Linked DNA regions of Homo sapiens: region 2 is linked to region 1. The links are contacts of gene promoters, found by promoter capture Hi-C in human tissues and cell types (Jung and others, 2019). All regions are on one chromosome and are shown on one strand. The core of a region is centred on a gene start or on the middle of the fragment in contact, and the rest is flanking DNA. Distances in the headings are between cores, read along the strand shown. Region 1 holds the start of GABRG3 (gamma-aminobutyric acid type A receptor subunit gamma3). Region 2 overlaps GABRG3 (gamma-aminobutyric acid type A receptor subunit gamma3).

Region 1 (2,592 bases), core at 46-2,545:
GTTGGAAGTGGAAGAATGCAGGAGCGTCAGAGTCTTCATCAAAGAGGGGACCTTATAGGGCATGTGCACCTAAGTAGGAGGGATGTGCTGGGCAGAGGAGGATGAGAATGCCAGAAAGAGTCCTGGAAAGGCGGGGAGCTGGGTGAGTTCAGCACCTCACAGAGACAGAAAGGTGATGCCAGGGAGATGACAGCTCCATTGTTGAAAAACAATATTGTCATTAACAACTGCACTCCCCTCCACTTCATGCCTATCCAGAAACAAGGGGGAACACACCAGAGGAATACAGGCCCATGCCACCATGCCCAGCTAATTCTTTACTATTTTTTGTAGAGACAGGGTTTTTGCACATTGCCTAGGCTGGTCTCGAACTCCTGGGGTCAAGTGATCCGCCTGCCTCGGACTCCCAAAGTGCCGGGGTTACCGGCTTGGGCCACTGTGCCTGGCCGAACAAAGCTATTTGACAATATTAAAGAAACAGTTATCACACCCTTACATAATTCTATGAATAGCAGTTATAAAACATTTTCTAAGAACTTTTTGGGGGTGATAGAAATGTAAAATTCCTAGTGGATTTACTACACTGTTGCGATTGCAATACTTACATGGTGCAAGACTAACTTTCTGAATGATTATGACAAATGAAAGCGTAAATGCCATTTTCGGTTTTTGGAATATGAAAATACATGGAATGAGGCGCACCTCATGCTTCCACCAAACGGAACGTCTTTGGCTTCTTGCCTTAGGATCTTTCTAGCTCCTACCTTTAACATGCCTTTCCACCTCTACTGTTTATTGCTATGTGTTAGTCTCTCTTTTCTGTAAGAAAGGCATAAATCTGGGGTGCTTTTTTCCCAAATATTCCCGCAGAAAGCCACCTTTCCAAGCACAGAATCTTATCAGTGCCTAGGAGTTCAGCCGACTTAGCACGAAGAGTGCGATGGAAGGGCTGCTTTTGGCAAACCGTCTCAACCCCGGGCGACGGCGGGCACGGGAGGTCAGGGAGCGCTGGAGGAAACCTGCACTGGGGTAGAAATGGCTGGAGGAAGGCGGACCGCGGGCTCGCTCTCATGGTGCCAACCCCGGGGACCTTTCTTCAGGCTCCCTGCGGGATCCCCAGCCTCCCCTCCCCCTCGGAGCTCCGCCCCCTTCCTGGCCTCAAACTCCGAGTCCATTCAAACCTCGCCTTCCTCGCCCTGCGCGTTGTCAGGCGTGTAATTGGGGAAACTCCTCCCCGCCGGGACCGCCTCGGAGGCGCTGCCAGGGGACAGCCGCCCAGCTGCCCCCACCTCCCAGCACAGCGCACACAGCCCCGGCCTGGGCACCCGCGCCCGCTCGCGGCTCCAGGCGGGGTGGGCGGCGCCGCGCCAGGGGGTCCCCGGCGCCCATTGCTCCCGCCGCCCGGTTGCGCGGACCGGCGCTAGTGCGCGGGTGGGGGCGGCGCGCCGCGGTGGCCCGGCGTCCCGTGTGCGTCCAGTGTGCGCCCCGCGGGGGCGCGGCCAGCGCCAGAGTAGATACCTGTCCCGCCCGCCGCGGCCAGCAGCCTCGGAGGAAGCCAGGGCAAAGAGGGCCGGCGGAGACCAGGTCCGCGCCGGAGGAAGCCGCGCCCGGCCGAGGCCCCGGACCCTGCGCCCCGAGCTCCACGGCACCATGGCCCCGAAGCTGCTGCTCCTCCTCTGCCTGTTCTCGGGCTTGCACGCGCGGTAAGTGGCGCGGGGGCCGCATCCCCGGAGGCCCCGAGCTGGGCGACAGGGCGGCGGGGGGCGCTGTCTGCTGGAGTCCCTGGCGCGCCAGCCGTCGGCTGGGCTGCGGCACGGCGGGCCGGGAGGGGACTGGGAAGTCGGTCTGCACCTCACCTGTCCCAGCTCCCTTGGACACGGTCATCTGCTTTTTCCTCTGCAGCCGGGAGTGTGGGGACTCAGATTAATGGGCTCGTCTCCTGACGCTTTTAGGATCTGGTGGTTTTAAGGGGTTTTGAGAACCAGGTTCAGGGGGCAGGGGCCATTTCTGGCTCCTTACCGACCCCTAATTCCCACCTCAGCTGTTTCAGGGGCTCACACACACACACACTTTGGCTGACATTCTCTGTCATTTCCATCACTCTGAAATTTCCAAGAACCCGGGAACCGTGGTTCTAACTGCCTAGTTTAGACCGGGCTGGAAAGAGCTAATGCATTGGAGGCAGGCGCGGGGGGATTGGAACCAGGTGGGCAGAAGAAAGCCCTGCTTGTCTGGGAGGACTCCCCTCCCAGGTCCTGCAAACACACACACACACCTTCCACATCAGCCACTTTCACACAGAGGAACACACGCACTCCCACCCCCATAAAGCACGCATGTCGAAATGGATAATAAGGCTTCTGCCTGGTAATGTAAGAAATCATCTCACCATAAATTCCGCAACCTTCCTCCCAGTACACCAACCGGCTAATGGGAGCTTAGAATCACTCTAGAAGAGATGAAGAGGGCGCATGAGGATACAAGGACAGTGGGACCCAAAGGGTTAAATCCTGTTGCTGTAAACACAACTGGAGATTCTGGGTTTAGTTTCTTTAATTCTGTCTCTCTGGCTGGATTTCTGGCTAGAGCTTG
Region 2 (2,592 bases), core at 50-2,549, 190 kb after region 1:
CACTGTCTACCATGTGCGAGTGGGCTTGCTTGTCTTAACCATTCCATGAAGTAAACAGTTCTGTGTGGCAGGGAACGTGCAGGTCTTCTTGGCATCTCTCCCCTGCAGGGGCTGTGAGAGCCTGTGAGGGGTGCCAGTGTCGCTCAGCTGCACCTTAGGAGCGGACCAATTCAGTTACGGGGGGATGGAAGAAGGAAATGTCAGAGGGACCCATGTCCATGTTCGCAAGCAAATTTTATTGTAATTACACATAGAATAAATTAGAATGTTTCACACATAAACATTCCAAAATTGTTTTCCCACTTTTACTTGGAAAATGCTCAAATGTAAAGAAAAGCTGAAGAATAGTATAATAGACACCTATTTACTCTTCACCTAGATTAATTGTTATCCTTTACCACATTTACTGTCTCTCCAAACACACACACACACACAAACACAGCTTCTCTTTTGCCAATCCTTTGAAAATAAGTTGCAGACATTACATGTCAGTCCTGAATATTTCACATGTACCACCTAAGAATGAAAACATTCCCCCGCATACTCACAATACGGTAAATCAAAGTTGTCATTTAGTATCAAATCTACAGTCCAAAAATACTACTACCCCTAATGTTACTGTAATTGGTATTAGCACATTAGTGTTAGTATTAGCACACAAGACAAATAGTACTACTGGGTTCTCAGTTGCAGCTGAAAGATCTTTCATAGCTTTGATCCAGGTTTGATCCAGGAATCAAAGCTTCACCCTTGACATTTTTACTTGTTGTGTCTCTCCAGGCTCTTTTGATCTAGATTGGCACCCTCCTATTCAATTTGATGTATTTGTCATGACATTTACTTTCCTGAAGATTCCAGGGCAGTTATCTGTTAGACGGGTAAAATGTCCTGCATTCTGCAATATCTGATAGCTCTATGATGATGAGATTTACGTCGAACCTTTTGTGGCTGTAATATCACATTGGTGAAATCATTTTAGACATTAAGTATCAAGTATTGCACTGACTACTGTTTTGAAAGGGGATCTTCTCATCATAATCTGTACACATTCGTTAGTTCTTTACAAAATAAGGAAGTGATATTAATACAGGTGGGCTCCTCTCAGTGGAAAGTGATGTCTCTCGTATCAAGCGATGTTGCTTCATGAAGTGTTTAGAAAGCCAGTTCCAAAAGCAGATCAGTAATCAATCTTGGATAAGAACTTTTTTCAAACCATTCATATAAATGTTGTCCAAGACATTTAGGATGGCAAAAGTGCTTCTGAATATTTTTACTAGTGAAATTTGAAAAAAATATAGAATTTAGAATTTGACATACCAAAAACTGATGGTTCTTGAGATCAACCATTCAGGGCTATTTAGTTTCCTCTCCCAGATAATTTTCTTTCCTTTTTGCCTGATATGAGGCAGATGGAGTAGGGCTTCATGCCAGAGTACCTTGTTACTGGTGGTATGTTTACCGACAATTAGACTTCCAGCATTGGGCAGTGCTGGCGAGGTCACCTAACCCAGCATTCCACCTCCGCCCAGGCGCTGATCCCCACCAAGCACACAATGACCTCCATGACAAAGCCTCTGTGTCAGGGCATCTTTGACAATTGAAATGCTGGAAAATTCTGTGTGAAAATGTCCTCATTCTTTCACTGGTCAATCCAGGTTCTAGTTCTTGTCATGCTTTATCCACCTTAAAACCCTTCAAATATTTGAAGATTGCTCTTACATTCTCCAAAGATGTTCTTCTCCAGTGTTAGCATCCTGAGCTCCTTCTGCCTTTCCTCTTCAATCTCCCAAGTGCATCATTTCTGCTTGCTTTCTCTTTAACATGTGTGCTCTAGCATTCTGTCTCCCCTCTCTTCCTACAGTTCTTTCCTCACACAATAATTTAAGTCTGCCATGCACATGTCATGCCTGTGAAAACCAATATAAACTGCTGGTCCTTAGGGAGCTCACCAGTCAGTGAGAGGAGGATCAGGCCAGCAGAGGATGCTATTGACAGTGAGATGGTACCTGTCTGGGGCACCTGTCATACCTGTCGCAAAGGAGGAGGTGGTTGCTAGCCCTAGAGGAAGAAAAGGCAACCTCAGTATTGGAGGAGTGGCTGTTTTCTAGGTAGGGGTGGGCATGGCATAAGTCCAAGAAGTGAGAGATGTAAGAAGACATGCAAAGCTACAAAGCAGGGGAGAGCAAGACACCAGACAGTGGGATGGGGTGGGATGCAGCGAACCAGCACAGTGAGCCTTCTGAGCCTTTCTCAGTGGCTCTGATTACGTCTTTAGGCAATGCGAAGCTTGCAGAATGAGATTCACATTAGAGTGTAGTAACAGGGACAGACACACCTTTTATTTTAGAAGGAAGTTGGATGGAAAATGCATCCATATCCATCTCCATATGAGATAGTGAACTTTCTCAACTAATATTCAGATAATATTCAGAAATAACAGAGGGGAAAAGTACAAAAAGAAGTGTATTCTTCTTTTCTTTGAACAAATTTTCTTATGGTATCTCAGCTGATTGCAAATAGAGTATCACCATTAATTCCATTTTAGTATTGATTTGCTCTTTTAAAAAATCAATTTAAGAAATGCCCTAATGT

What was found. Contacts are between HindIII fragments. The study calls those that stand out against the background at their distance.
Region 2: a contact is called between a fragment that was not itself captured here and the fragment with the promoter of GABRG3 in region 1, in 2 of the 25 tissues and cell types used here (dorsolateral prefrontal cortex and small bowel).

Annotation. Positions count from the first base shown.
Region 1 is chr15:26,969,886-26,972,477 of GRCh38, forward strand. GABRG3 (gamma-aminobutyric acid type A receptor subunit gamma3) reads left to right here and starts at 1,296. Exons shown (of 10, transcript NM_033223.5): 1 at 1,296-1,703. The coding sequence starts at 1,651. The HindIII fragment of the contact is 15,270 bases long and covers 1-2,592 here.
Region 2 is chr15:27,163,797-27,166,388 of GRCh38, forward strand. All of the region lies in intron 3 of GABRG3 (gamma-aminobutyric acid type A receptor subunit gamma3), which reads left to right. Among named protein-coding and RNA genes, the nearest start is that of GABRG3-AS1, 3.8 kb to the left of the region's middle. The HindIII fragment of the contact is 3,407 bases long and covers 1-2,592 here.